Regions from separate parts of the Homo sapiens genome. Here all the other regions are linked to region 1. The links are contacts of gene promoters, found by promoter capture Hi-C in human tissues and cell types (Jung and others, 2019). All regions are on one chromosome and are shown on one strand. The core of a region is centred on a gene start or on the middle of the fragment in contact, and the rest is flanking DNA. Distances in the headings are between cores, read along the strand shown.

What was found. Contacts are between HindIII fragments. The study calls those that stand out against the background at their distance.
Region 2: a fragment that was not itself captured here is called in contact with the fragment with the promoter of GAS1 in region 1 in 1 of the 25 tissues and cell types used here (mesenchymal stem cells).
Region 3: a fragment that was not itself captured here is called in contact with the fragment with the promoter of GAS1 in region 1 in 2 of the 25 tissues and cell types used here (H1 embryonic stem cells and lymphoblastoid cells).
Region 4: a contact is called between a fragment that was not itself captured here and the fragment with the promoter of GAS1 in region 1, in 1 of the 25 tissues and cell types used here (dorsolateral prefrontal cortex).
Region 5: a fragment that was not itself captured here is called in contact with the fragment with the promoter of GAS1 in region 1 in 1 of the 25 tissues and cell types used here (H1 embryonic stem cells).

What each region holds. Positions count from the first base shown.
Region 1 is chr9:86,946,138-86,949,058 of GRCh38, reverse strand. GAS1 (growth arrest specific 1) reads left to right here and starts at 1,553. Exons shown (of 1, transcript NM_002048.3): 1 at 1,553-2,921. The coding sequence starts at 2,280. It overlaps GAS1RR (GAS1 adjacent regulatory RNA), which reads right to left and starts at 361. Exons shown (of 7, transcript NR_049794.1): 1 at 66-361. RefSeq lists silencers at 2,343-2,422, 2,493-2,562. The HindIII fragment of the contact is 5,107 bases long and covers 235-2,921 here.
Region 2 is chr9:87,730,360-87,733,280 of GRCh38, reverse strand. It overlaps CTSL (cathepsin L), which reads right to left. Exons shown (of 8, transcript NM_001912.5): 7 at 2,783-2,900; 8 at 1,812-2,273. The coding sequence ends at 2,174. Among named protein-coding and RNA genes, the nearest start is that of CTSL, 5.7 kb to the right of the region's middle. RefSeq lists a silencer at 674-2,173. The HindIII fragment of the contact is 6,197 bases long and covers 1-2,921 here.
Region 3 is chr9:87,663,438-87,666,358 of GRCh38, reverse strand. The region is part of intron 18 of DAPK1 (death associated protein kinase 1); the gene reads right to left. Among named protein-coding and RNA genes, the nearest start is that of CTSL, 61 kb to the left of the region's middle. The HindIII fragment of the contact is 5,074 bases long and covers 1-2,921 here.
Region 4 is chr9:87,512,768-87,515,688 of GRCh38, reverse strand. The region is part of intron 2 of DAPK1 (death associated protein kinase 1); the gene reads right to left. Among named protein-coding and RNA genes, the nearest start is that of DAPK1, 16 kb to the right of the region's middle. The HindIII fragment of the contact is 3,649 bases long and covers 1-2,921 here.
Region 5 is chr9:87,465,900-87,468,820 of GRCh38, reverse strand. No RefSeq gene overlaps it. Among named protein-coding and RNA genes, the nearest start is that of DAPK1, 31 kb to the left of the region's middle. RefSeq lists an enhancer at 2,885-2,921. The HindIII fragment of the contact is 3,393 bases long and covers 1-2,921 here.

The DNA of each region.
Region 1 (2,921 bases), core at 304-2,803:
TAGTATCGATTTATATTGCTGTTTGTCTACCAATACTCAAATCAGAGCAAGACGGTCCGCCTTACCTCAGTCTGGCTCTTTTAAGGTTTGATTTTGGTTTTGGGGACTGCAGAGGTGCAGCTTCCCACGGCAGACCAAGCGCCTCTGAGGAACGCAGCAGCTTCAGCAGGTACAGGAAGATTTCCCGCAGCCGGAGGAATCTCCTAGTGCTGGGCCTCCGGCTGTGACTTTTGCCATTTCAAATTCACTTGGCCTCTAGGGAGAGGCAGACAGCCCGACGCTGAGCGCGTCGGAGCCCCGGCTCCCTCTGCTTCTGGAGAGGAGATTTAGCCTTAATTTTTGTGACAGATGGAGTTGATAGTCTCTCCACGGAAAGGGGAGGAAAAAAGCGCCAGTTTTTGACAGGCCGCAGACGCCCGCTGCCTCTGGTGGCGGAAGGCTGCGTTGCGCCCCAGTTAAGGTAGCTCGGAAACTCCCTCGCCGAGAAGGCAGAGGTTTCCTCTGCAGAGCAGCCTCCCTTAAATATACTGAGGGGCTGAAACTTACACTTTAATATAAACCTTTGGTGCGTGCCCATTTATTCCGTCTTCTGTCCTGTGACTGCGGCCAGGTGGTAATTGCTCGACATTCCTGAATATTTTTAATGCTAGTTAAATTTTTTCATTATTGCACGTGTTGCAAGCTTATCTTCCTAAGAAATTATTTCGGTTGATTGGATTTCGGTCTTGCAATTTGAAAACGATGCCTGGCGCACGGGCGGTACCTGCCAGATGGCCTAGCTGGGGCTGGGGGGTGGCGGGCGGGTTGTAAGCATCTCATCAACATCTCCCTAATAAAGTGTGTGCTTCTTTCTTGTATGCTTCTTTAAAACAGTTTCAGTCTCACATTTTATCTCTGGATTCTCCCCTTCCCCTCTGTGGTGATCAAGACCCAAAGACAGGGAGCCTGGAAGATAAACTGAGTTCTGAATCCAGTCGAAAGCACAGATGGGGGCCAGCGAGAATTAATAAAACTACAAAAAAAAAAAAAAAGAAAAAAAAAACAAACAAAAAAGGCCCGTGGCTGAGCCGGATGCAAACAGCTGCCCCTAAGCCCTGCCCGCTGGTTCTGTGCGCGAGCTGGGGCTGCATATCCGAGCCTCCTTAAGAGTAGGAGGAGCTCCGGGCCTCCGTCAGGCTCCCTAAGCCGTTCCTTTCAAGCCCTGAATGCCTGAATGTGAGCTGCCCACCACCCTCCCGCCCTCCCCCACTCCGCAACCCCACTCCAGCGGCTCGTAAAAAAAAAAAAAAAAACTTTCAACAACAACAGGCAGGACCAATAGCATCTCGAAAAGCCGGGAAAGGGGGCCGAGCAAAGGGCGAAAGAGAGTGGAGAAAGGAGAAAGCGGGCAGGCTCGGAGCGCGCGGGGCCGGGGCTCGGCGAGCCGGAGGAGCGTTGCTAATGTTTTTGTTTGTTTGCTTTTCCATGCATGCATAATGAGGGGGCACCGCGGCACCACGCGGGGGCTCCCGGCCCACTTTTGTATTTAAAGCCTCGCTGCTAACGAGTCTGCAGCCGGGCTCAGCGGATCCGCTCCCCGGGCTCTTGGTCACCCGAGAAGCTGCCGCCGAGTGAAGCCAGGGAGCCGCTCTCCGGCAGCGCCGACTTTCTTGTTCTCCCCGCGCTTCCCGGAAAGAGCTCCCCGGAGCTCTGCGGAGGCCGGGGTTGCCGCGGGCGGAGGGGGAGGGGACGCGGGGCGGCCGGGCCGCGGGAAGGCGGGCAGCGCGCGGACGCCGGGCCAGGAAGCGGCGCGATGCGAGAGACCGCGGCGGCGGTGGCGGCGGCGAGGCACTGAGCCCAGGAGGAAGGAGCCGCCGCGGCCGCAGCGCGAGCAGCCGGCACGGGGACAGCCGGCCGCACAACGGATCTGCAGGCGCGGAGCAAAATGCACCCGCCGCGCCGCGCGGTCCTGCAGCCCCGCCACGGCCCCGCGGCCCGCACCCCCCCGGGGCGACAGTGAGCCTCTCCCGCCACCACCGGGGGCCGAGCGGAGGGCTCTCGGGTGGGAGAGCGGGACCAGATCTCGACAGCTGTTCATTTCCAGGAAGCCACCGCAGCCAGAGCGAAAGGGGACCTTCTGCCACCAGCGGGGCATCAGCCAGCGGCGCGCATGGATTTATGAAGACACTCATGCAAGAAGTGGGCAGGACTTGGACAAACTTTTCCACCGGCTCCGCGTCCGCCGCTCCCCGCGCCTCGTCTCCTTTCCCCTCCTCTCCCGGCGGCCGCCGCTGCCCGCGATGGTGGCCGCGCTGCTGGGCGGCGGCGGCGAGGCCCGCGGGGGGACAGTGCCGGGCGCCTGGCTGTGCCTGATGGCGCTGCTGCAGCTGCTGGGCTCGGCGCCGCGGGGATCGGGGCTGGCGCACGGCCGCCGCCTCATCTGCTGGCAGGCGCTGCTGCAGTGCCAGGGGGAGCCGGAGTGCAGCTACGCCTACAACCAGTACGCCGAGGCGTGCGCGCCGGTGCTGGCGCAGCACGGCGGGGGCGACGCGCCCGGGGCCGCCGCCGCCGCTTTCCCGGCCTCGGCCGCCTCTTTCTCGTCGCGCTGGCGCTGCCCGAGTCACTGCATCTCGGCCCTCATTCAGCTCAACCACACGCGCCGCGGGCCCGCCCTGGAGGACTGTGACTGCGCGCAGGACGAGAACTGCAAGTCCACCAAGCGCGCCATTGAGCCGTGCCTGCCCCGGACGAGCGGCGGCGGCGCGGGCGGCCCCGGCGCGGGCGGGGTCATGGGCTGCACCGAGGCCCGGCGGCGCTGCGACCGCGACAGCCGCTGCAACCTGGCGCTGAGCCGCTACCTGACCTACTGCGGCAAAGTCTTCAACGGGCTGCGCTGCACGGACGAATGCCGCACCGTCATTGAGGACATGCTGGCTATGCCC
Region 2 (2,921 bases), core at 222-2,721, 780 kb before region 1:
AGTGTAAATAAAACAATCTTAAACATGTGAATTATGGAATGTTTAAGCTGTATTACTGGAGAAAAGAGACCAAGTCTCCTGGAAATTATTTTTCTTATTAACTTATTAACAAAGAGATAATCATGAACATTTGTGAAATTCAGGGTTTAAAGCTGTATATATACACCTTCCAAGTTGGCAAACTTAAAACACTGAATTGCACTATATATGTATTTCCCCCAGTATCAATGCTGTGGGAAGCCCAAGCCATGGGGAGGCCCCGGGCAGGTGCTCTGGTCAATAGCCCAAGTTGAACGTCCAGCCAGCACCAGCATCTGCAGCCAGCCATGTGAGTGAGCCTTTGCAGATGTCCAGTTCACTCAAACCTGCAGATGTCTCAAGCACAGATATAGACCTCCACGTGAAAACCACACAGCCAAGTCCAGGCAGAATCATGTGAAAGATGTTCCTTCCCAGCCATTGGGTTTCTGGGTGGTTTGTTTTACAGTAACAGAACCAAAACAGTCTGTTCACTGCACTCCCAGTGGCTCCTTTATCCTGAAAATCTACCTCTTGACCAGCTTCATCTCCCAACACCTGGACCCAGTGACTTTTACTGGGTCTGTAACCACAGGGTCTTTTCTCAGGGTTGCTGATGTGCTAGTCTCTGCTAAGATGCTCACCTCTTCATCTTCCCTTATTGACTAGCTGCTCTAGCCATCTGCTTTAACTTCTTCCTGGAAGCCCTCCCTGCTAACCTCACTCTCCCTAACTGTTCAGCTCCTTGAGGTCAGGGTCTGTCTCTTCCACAGTGGTGATGACCAGCATGTAGTGGGTGTTGTATATAAATTCCAGTTTATCAAATCTAAGCCCCAACCTGCACGAGGGATTTAGCCTGGGAACCTCCCCAAATCTTGCTACCCCTGGTGACTTTTATTACAATACCCAAAGAATTTCACAGATGCCACATTTGCCATTTTAGGTCAAAAAGTTTGAAATTTTAGCAACTACTCGGGAAGGGCACATGAGAGTCCAGCAAGGCATGTGGTCCAATCGAGATGGACTTGGACAGAACCTCCCGGGGGCTTTGTAAGCTGAGACTCCATTGTACACCTGGTTACCCTCCTCTGTGATATGGAGTCTATTCATTGGACATTCTCATCTGTTCTTTATATTTCCTTCAGTTGGAACAAGAGACTTCTGAAAACACACAGGTGATGGAAGTATGGGCTGTTTAGCTAGTGCGATGTGGGAAGTTTTTCTATTTAAAAAAAAATAAATCAGGTATTTTCAGGTAGCTTGCTCTAAATAGGGCAACAGATTGTCATTTCTAGCCTCTCACTTGTCTTTTATTTTCTGAGGCCAGAGCACCACTTCTGAACCCCAGCCTCAAACCCTGAAGTTTATTCCTCATCCCTTGAGGACCCAAAAACAAACAGCCTTGGCAATGCACTAGTTCTTAACCCACCTTGACTGCAAAGTGTCCACAGGGCCTTCACCAGCAGTGGGCGAAGATGCTCCAGAAACAGGCTGAGACCTTTGCCCTGTAACTTGACTGAGATGCAACCACTTTGGGTGAAATAAACACGATCACTAAAGTCCTTTTCTAGTATTAAAATTATATATATGTATGTTCACTTTTCTAAAAAGTGAATATTTTTCTTTATTCAAACAATTTTCCTTTGTCCTCATAGATCATTTTCAAATTTTGCTGCAATCAAGGATTGGTTAAGACATAGCCACTGGGCAGCTGACATGAGATCTGTACATCTGTGACTAGAAGACCCAGAAGGCCACCCACTCTTCCTCCTAGTGAGCCACTGGCACAGCAGTTATGGCTTAGAGCCCAATTATGTTCTTTATTACACAAAAATTCAGTGCATCAAAAATAGAAAGAAGCCCCACCACTACATTTGAAATTAAATTTTATTTAAACAGGTAAAAATTTATACATCCTTTTAAAAACGAAAATGCAAAGTCAGTAAGTGAATCAATAATATAAACCTATTTATAGCAGTAATTAAAATAGAGGTAACATTTACCAGTGTGAAAATATCACAGAATTCAAATCACACTCGGATCTTCAATGATTCGAGTGTGTATCCGACACAGCGGGGGCTGGTAGACTGAAGATGAATTCCTCCCATGCATGCGCCATCCCCAGTCAAGTCCTTCCTCATCACCGTCCACCAGCTCACACAGTGGGGTAGCTGGCTGCTGAGGCAATTCCACAATGGTTTCTCCGGTCTTTGGCCATCTTTACGTAGCCACCCATGCCCCATTCTTCACCCCAGCTGAAAAAAGAGCAGGTTTTCCATTTCAGAGAAAGAATAAAGCCCAAAGGGTTATTAACAGGAACACCCAACTTAAACACTGTGCCAGAGGCCATAGACTTAACAGAAAGAATCAGGACAGGCAATGTTCCTGTTTATCCTTAAAAAATTCTTGACATAACCTGGACATAATTTCCATCCCAGCCTCCAAACTGTGACCTTTCACAGAACTACAGATCAGAGACAGGAAAACAATAGGATGTCTTTGCAGCCAGATATGCCTCAGAATTTAAAAACTGTTCAGATTTAGATACACCTTTATACAATGGAACAAATACTATATTCATACTCCCAAGATATTTGTGACAGTTTCTTACTTTTATAATCAAACATTAATATTATATGTTCAACTTAGACTTCTGGGGATTTCAGAAGTATGCCTAAGGGCATGTGGAACTGTATCCAAACACTGTTTGCAAATAAGTATTCTCTTTTGAATTTCAAATGTAAGTATTTCTGGCAATTTATACCTGTTCTTCACCAGCCAATATTTATTGTTATCTGATTCTGTGCTTTCAAATCCGTAGCCAACCACCAGCACACCATGATCCATGTCTTCACTGCTACAGTCTGGCTCAAAATAAATGCCTGGGATGGTAAAATGAGGGC
Region 3 (2,921 bases), core at 215-2,714, 720 kb before region 1:
CTGGCAGTGCAGGAGACAGTTTGAAGTTGGGAGAAGACCCAGTTTGAAGTCCTGAACCCACCCCTCACCGGCTATGTGGTGGGTCACTCAGCCTTCCCAAGCCTGGGTTTCCTCATCTGCAAGATGGAAAATGGCACCCTCCCTGCACAGGTTCTTGAGCAGGTGAGAGAAAACCAAATGGAAAGAACCAGCACAGTGCCAGGCACAGAAGAAGCAAGCAGTGTTGGAAATTATTCACAGAAGAGCTGAGAATTGCCCTAACTACCTGGCCTTCTGTCTGAGAGGGAAAGGGGCAGAAGTCAGATCTCTGCATTTTGGTCTTGGCTCTACTGGACACCCCGACGGAGGCTGCAAAAGCAACACTTACACTTGCTGCCCTCCTCCTTACCAACAGGGCTCATGGACTCAATGAAGTGCATGCATTGAAAAGATATAGAAAGATGGCCAAGTGTCTCAGCACTCAGCTGTCCATCATCTCAACGTGAGCCCTGGGGACCAAGTGGCTGCAGAAGGGTGAGTTGGGTCCAGAAATCACGGTGTCTCTTGTGCACCAGCAGCCCACAACACTACATTCTAGACTGTGGGCAGTGATTCCCAAGTTGGCCCCATGACATAGAAAGAAATCCATGGAAAGGTGAAAGGCCACTTCACTTATTGTGTTCAAGAAGCCGGAGCCCCACAGGCCAGCCAGTTTTAGGAGCCTGCCCTTCACAGACATGCTGCTTATTGACGTCTGGGGAAATGCTCACAGTCATGACTTCTAGTGACACGTGTAATATGCTTCGCAAAGGAACAGATGGGGTTTCAACTGGGGCAAGCATTGACAGGGAAACCTATTTGTGTATCCCCAGTGAAAAGATGATCTGAAAGAATGTGCACAGTCATTTAAACATCTTTAGATAGTGTTGGGGAAAATATGGATTTTTTGTTAACCTACAGAATTATAAGGGCTCATCTACTTAGCACTCGGTCAACAAACACTCCATGTCCTGCCTGGACTATGGTGCCATTCATTTTTTCCTTCCTTCCTTCATACTTTCATCTAGCAGGTATTTACTGAGTGCGTATTATGCACAGGGCTATGGATACAGCAGTGAATAAAACCAACAAAAGTCCCTATTTTCATGGGATCCAGAATCTAGTGGGGAGAGCCAACAAGAAACAAATAGGTGAGTAAAATACAGTAGGTCAGGTGGTGATAGGTGCTATGAAGAAAAATGGGGCAGGGGAGATGAGGGGCAGTCCTGGGGGTGGGGGAGGGATAGGATTTAAAATAGGGTGGTCCAGAAAGGCCTCCCTGAGAAGGTGAAGCTCGAGTCAAAACCTGCAGAAGGTGAGAGACCAAATCACATGGATACCTGGGGAAGAGCCACTCAGGCCCAAGAATAGCAAGTGCAAAGGCCCCCGGGCGGTGGATGGCCAGCACTTTTGAAGAACATCAAGGAAGCTCATGGGGCTGATGTGGAGGGAGACGGGAGGAGGCGGAACAGGAGATGGGGGTCAGGGAGGCAATGTCAGGGGCAGATCCTTGGGGAAGCCCCCATTTGAAGGGCTCTGATTCCCATGAGAAGTTGCTAGAGCATCTGAGCAAGGAGGATGAGATCTCACTTACGTCTGACCAGGCGGCTGCGTGGGGACCAGGCTGTGGACAGGTAAGGGTGGAAGCAGGGAGCCCACTTAGGAGGCAGCAATGAATTCCCAGTGATTCCTGCCCAAGGGCTCACTCCTGCTAGGAGAAATCCGGATACGATTCCAATAGAGCAAGGAAGGCGAAGGGACTACCAGCCCACAGGGGCAAATCACACACACCGGAGAGGCTGGAACAGAGGAGGTTTCCTGGGCTGGAGGTGAATGTTGATGGATGAGGAGGAGTGGGTGCCACGGAGTCTTCCCCGAATGTTATGGGCTGTGTGCCCACATGCCCGTAGCGGGCATTCCAAGTCTCTCTCTGAAGGCAGAGCGCCATCAGGTACCCTCAGGGCAGAAGTGGGCAGAGAGATGTGTGCCTGTGTGTGCTGATGCTGTGGGCACACTATGCGCAGGGGGTGAAGGGGGAAAGGGGAGCTCCAGGGTGAAAGAACAGCAGGTGACAACTCCATGATGGGGGAGCCGGCAGGGGCTTCCCAGGACCCAGCCACAACTGAAGGGGAGAAGAGGGGAAGGGGAGGCTGGGCAGAGGCTGCAGAGTTCACATCCTGAAGGCAGAGGAGCCCCAGGTGGAGGTGAAAGTGGAGCCCACTGAGTGGCTGGCATTTCTAGAAAGATAAACGTGGGGCTGGGATGGACTGGTCCCAAGGGGCAGGAGGCTACAGTGCAGGGGTGGGTGAAGAGTCCGACTGGTCTGGAGGAGACTAAGGTTAAGGGTGACGCCCTTAACCAGGTGGGGGCTGGAGAGGCGGGTGCTTCGTGGTCATGGAGAAGTGGGAGGAGACTTAGTAGGCTGCCGGCTAGATGCAAATAGGTGAGGAGAGAGTAAGAAGGGTTTCCATGATCCTGGGCAGAGTGACAGACAGATGCGGAAGCCCTTTGCAGAGGCTGAACACTGGGGAGGAGGAAGCACAGAACTGGAGGGAGGGACCCTGGTGTGGGGGGGCCGAGGGCCTCTGAAGGTGCTGTGTGAGGCTGGCACTCAGGGGCAAGCAGGGACCAGAGACCTGAGCATGGGCCTCAGTGTTGGACAGCTGCAAGTCTGGGGGCCAGAGAGGGCCAGGGGGATGGAGAGGGAGAAGATGGACCAGCAGGAAGCAGAGGCCTAGGGAGAAGCAGGACGCGGGGACTTTCTCAGCCCAGGCAGGATTGTCAGGGCGTGCCAAGGGTGCCCAGTCCTGGGGATATCCAGTGAAAGAGGCTTAGGGGCAGCAGCTGGGGCTTGGGTGGAAAGATAACAAGGAAGCAAAAGGAAGAGCTGGCTTCAAATCAGG
Region 4 (2,921 bases), core at 262-2,761, 570 kb before region 1:
GGCAATCTTTTCCTCAATATCCCCACCAGGTGGGTATTTAGTGCAAACACTGCAGTGTCCACCACTTGTGACCTCACTTGCAGTCTGCTCTGCTATTGGACAGCTGAGTTCTTCCTACTAAGCCAACCTCTGCCTCCTCATGGCTCCCACCACTGACCCCCAGTGCCCCCAAAACAAGCCTATCCCCATCCAAAAGACCATCTATGTGTGTTTTCATGGGCTTCAGAGCCAGAGAGGCTCAGAGCTCAATTTCAGTTCTGCCACTTACTCATTTCAGCATATTAAATTATTTAATCTCTTTAAGCCTTTGTTTATTCATCAATAAAACAGAGCAGGGCTTAGCAAATCATGGCCCACAGGGTAAATCCAGACCATTGCCTGTTTTTATTAGAACACAGCCACACCCTTTTGGACACATAATGTCTGTGGCTGCTTTTGAGTTAAAACAGAGTTGAGTTGTTGCAACAGAAACCATGTGGCCCACGAAGCTTACCATATTTACTATCTTTACATAAAATGTCTGCCAAGCTCTGAAATAGAGGATCCCCATAAGAGGCTAGTTTGAGGAATTACATGCAGTAATATTTACAAAAAGATGCACATGGTGCTTGACTCCATAGCTAAGTAAAATACATTATTCATGAGATACTCGGGTTCTCCAGCTTTTGCCTTCTTTGGACTCCCCCAAGTTTGTCAGTGTCTCTCCCAGAACAGAACACTCTCATGTCCCAGATGCAGAATGACCTCAGCAAAAACAGAGAAAACAGAGAAACCAGCAACTCCCATTGCAGACATTCAATTTCTATGGTATAGACAAAAGCTGTATTTTCTTCTTAATGCAGTCACGAGGATATGGGTTCCATAGACATTTGTAATTATCAAAGCTCTCAGACTCTTCTCCAAAAGGACACTGTCATGACAAGTCTCCCTGCTGCTGAATTTGAGCAATTGCTTTTTCTCTCCAACTTAATTGTCTGGCTTCATCTTTGTATCTGTTACATTTAATCGTGTCGGGCTTTGTTCAATCCAACAATTAATGCGAACCCTCCTTCCATCATTCATTCATGTCACTCACTTAAATGTTCAATTTGGGGCTGGTTCTTGTGCTCAATTCAATAACCAGAAAACAAGTCACAGACCTAGATCATGGGAGCTTCCAGTCTTAAGGAAGAGAATGACATTTGAAAGTAATTATACAAATAGGTATGGAATTGCAGTGGCTATTTGAATGGAGAGGGAAAAGTGATTCAACAGGGCTCTGACACCCACAAGCCTCACCAGCAGGTTCTCCAGGTCATACCCATTGTCTGTCTCAGCCCAGACCTCTGGGACACAGGAAACTACGCACTCCTGGGACAGTCCATACAAATCAAAGTACAACAGCAACTGCCCTAGACCTCACGCTCAGACCATCTGGCAGCCTTTTCTCTCCCCTCACCAGCTCTGGACACCCAAGGTCAATATCTTCTCTCATCTCATTCCACAGGGGTGTTTTCTTTGCCCACTAGGTGCAGGCTCCTCCTTCCCTACACCAGCTCTAGCCTCCTAAGCACATCAGTCAAGACTGATCTCTCTTGATCTTGTAGTCCTGTGGTTCTCTACAGAGGGTGGGGGAATTTTGCGCCCCCTCACACATTTAGCAATGTCTGGAGACATTTTTGGCTGTCATAAAGAGTGTGAGGAGGTGGCTGTTACTGGCATCCAGTGGGTAGAGTCCATGGATGCTGCTAAACATCCTATTATAAATATCCTATCCTAAAATACAATGCACAAGACAGCCCCCACAACAGAAAACTATCCAGAACAGGCTGTCACTAATGCCGAGGTTGAGAACACCTGGTTTAGAGGAAGCAAGGCGAAAAACAGGCATTGAACACATCGTATGAGCCAGCACTGTGCTAGACATTTAAAACTTCTTTAAACTTCCCTTCCAAGACAGTGACAGTAGAACAGGACACAAAATGAGCTGCACCACCCACCACCCAATTTCCAGACATGGCTTAGCAGCTTGGGAGTCCAACTACTGCTTCCAGCATTTTAAAACACTATTCAAGGCCAATCATCTTTCTGAACCTCGGTTTTCAAATGTGAATTACAATACCTACCTCCAGCTGCTGGTCTAGAGTTCCTAGCAAATCTTAGTTTCCTTGTCCCCATTTCTTTCATGTCTTATTTCCAGTTTTCTCCAAGGAAGGCAAGGGTAGAGACATACATACATACCCACACTTGCACCCACCTGCTTACATTTTTACGTCGTCCACAAGAATCTGAATGAAGGAATGAAACCTCCAAGTCAAAACGCTCTCCTTGGCTGAACTCCAAAAAACATTTTTCCATGCTTCATCTCACTTCCTATTTAGGCTTTCCAATACTGTTGGTTGTGCAAAAGTCTGTCTATCCTACATGACTAGAAGCTTGCTGAGATAGAGGGCCCTGCCCAACACTGCAGCAAGATCATTCAGATATTCAATTAGCCCTTGAGGAATGAATAAATGATGGGCAAATATTACGGTTCAAATGACAGTTTCGTTTAACAGCCTATTTATGGTACCTGTTTATAGCTTATTTGTTGTCTATTTGTTAGTTCTCTTGATGTTTTACCTAAATTCACCTTATAGACCCAATTTCCAAGTATTTTCCTTTTCAGATTTTGTCAGTGTTATGTTACTTTTACAAACTAAAGATACCCACCCAACAAGCCCAAAGAACAAGAAATAATTCTTTAAAAGAAAGCAGCCTCTCGGCCAGGCATGGTGGCTCATGTCTGTAATCCCAGCACTTTGGGAGGCTGAGGTGGGTGGATCACCAGCCTCTGAGGTCAGGAGTTCGAGACCAGCCTGGTCAACATGGTGAAACCCTGTGTCTACTAAAAATACAAAAATTAGCTGGGCATGGTGGCACACACCTGTAATCCCAGCTAC
Region 5 (2,921 bases), core at 195-2,694, 520 kb before region 1:
GCTTGGGTCTCATTCTCAAAATTACTATTTAAGTGGTAAGAAGTGAGGCCCATCTATCAAGATATTTAAGATCTCCCCAGGTGGTTATAAGACACAGCCCAATTTGAGAACAACTGGCTTAAATTATGGCAGGTAATAAAACAACACATCCTGTTTAGTTTTGTAAAATATCATTATATGTAGGGGGTGCCAGAAGGAAGACTCTTGAAGGAATGGACACATTTTCCATCCCACAAGAAGTGATGATGAATATTCTTTTTTTTTTTTTTTTTGAGATGGAGTCTTGCTCTGTCGCCCAGGCTGGAGTGCAATGGTGCAATCTTGGCTCACTGCAAGCTCCGCCTCCCGGGTTCAGGCCATTCTCCTGCCTCAGCCTCCTGAGTAGCTGGGACTACAGGTGACTGCCACCGCGCCCGGCTAATTTTTTGTATTTTTAGTAGAGACGGGGTTTCACCGTGTTAGCCAGGATGATCTCAATCTCCTGACCTTGTGATCCACCCACCTCGACCTCCCAAAGTGCTGGGATTACAGGCGTGAGCCACCGCGCCTGGCCTATTATGAATATTCTTTACATTCATTCTGTTACTGGAAAGGGGTCCCAATCCAGACCCCAAGAGAGTGTTCTCGGACTTCACACAAGAAAGAATTTGGGGTGACTCCAGAGAGCAAAGCCAAAGTAAGTTTATTAAGAAAGTAAAGGAAAAGAATGGCTACTTCATAAGCAGAGCAGAAGCATGGGGTGCTCAAATGAGTATACTCAGAGTTGCTTCTTGATCATATGCTAAACAAGGAATGGATTACTCATGAGTTTTCCAGGGAAGGATTGGGCAGTTCTGGAACTGAGGGTTCCTCCCCTTTTTAGACCATATAGACCATTTGTAAACTGCCATGGTGCTGGTGGGAGTGTCTTTTAGCATCCTAATGCATTATAATTAACATCTAATGAGCAGTGAGAATGACCAGAAGTCACTTTTGTGGCCATGTTGGTTTTGGTGGGTTTTGGCCTGCTTCTTTTTTTTTTTTTTTTTTTTTTTTTTTTGAGACCAAGTCTCGCTCCGTCCCCCAGGTTGGAGTACAGTGGGACAATCTTGGCTCACTGCAACCTCCACCTTCCAGGTTCAAGCGATTCTTGTGCCTCAGCCTCCCAAGTAGCTGGGATTACAGATGTGTGCCACCATGCCAGGTTAATTTTTGTATTTTTAGTAGAGACTGGGTTTCACCATATTGGCCAGGCTGGTCTCGAACTCCCAACCTCAGTGATTCTCTTGCCTCAGACTCCCAAAGCGCTGGGATTCCAGGCATGAGCCACCACGTCGGCCTTTTGGCCTGCTTCTTTACTGCAACCTGTTTTATCAGCAAGGTGTTTGTGACCTGTATCTTATGCTGATCTTCTATCTCATCCTATGACTAAGAAGGCCTAACCTCCTGGAAATGCAGCCCAGTAGGTTTCAGCCTCCTTTTACCCAGTCCCTAGTCAAGATGGAGTTGCTGTGGTTCGAATGCCTCTGACATTTCTGCTCATCTCTGTTTTCTGACTTTTCTTTCCCAAGAGTGCATTACATTTGAAATAAAGATCGTAAAACAAAAGCCAATTAAAGAAACAATATAGAAGTTGGATCTAGGTTTATCTGAAATTTTTGTTTAGAAAAACCCTTAGGAAATTGGTGTGGCCAGTGAGCAGGCTTTTGAAGACTAGGCCAAATGTACGGCAGGGGGGCCTGACTACTGTCATTCCTGGACCAGGTCAGGTGGGCCTGTTGAGGTCCTGAAACCTACTCAGCACCTGAGTGCAAATGCATGATGCTTTTTGCTGGGTTTGGGCTGTTAGGAATAGAAAAGAAAAAAAAAATCCCGGCTGGGCACGGTGGCTACTGCCTGTAATCCCAGCACTTTGGGAGGCCAAGGTAGGCGGATCACTCGAGGTCAGGAATTTGAGACTATCTTGGCCAACATGGTAAAAACCCATCTCTACTAAAAATACAAAAATTAGCCGGGTGTGGCGGCACACGCCTGTAATCCCAGCTACTAGGGAGGCTGAGGCAGGAGAACTGCTTGAACTCAGAAGGCAGAGGTTGCAGTGAGCCGAGATCATGCCACTGCATGACAGAGCCAGACTCCGTCTCAAAAAAAAGAAAAAAAAAAAAAAATCTAAAATGTCAGGCATTGGCTTCAGGCATAAACCAGCTTGCATTTAAATTAAATATTGAGTGACTTTAAGGCTATAAACATTGATCTTCTCTTAGACCAGTCACATTTATGTCTGAGTAGTCAAATTTAGAGGTGCTAAAGTTTGTGTGTTTATGTAGATAATCCCCCATGCTTGACATCGATCTGAGCGCATTAGTGAGCCCAACCATTTATTATCGAAATGGAGCCAGGTCTCCTATTTTAGCTGCTCTGTAACACGGTGTTTCAGTGTATTCATGGAAGTCACATAAGGTGTTTTTTAAAGTTCACTTTGAAAAATTAAAATGAAATTAAGCTTAAACTGTTGCTATCTTTTAAAAAGTTGTCCAACAGCGACTTGATCTGGTCTTATGGAAATGACATATTTAAACCAGAGGAAGGGACAATATTTTCATTGTTTGGTTTTTGTGTCTTCGTTGGTTTTCAGAGCTATGTTTATGTGTTGCATTTTGCATTCCCTTCACGGTGAACTTGACCTGAAAATTTTTAGGGCAGCCAGGTGTTAAACTTTTTTTAGCACCATGCAAACTGGTTTCATTCTTCCAAAACAGGTTTTTGCTTTGGAGTATAAAATGACAAGGGAAATGCATGTAGCCAAGATCCTTATTTGAGCTCATTCGCACTGGTCTAGACCCGTCCAGTGAGCTGGGGGCAGGTCTTGAAGGTGTGATTTGCATGAGCTGATTTGCATCAGGCCTGTGTATTGTTAAATAAAAGATAAGGATGGTTATCTT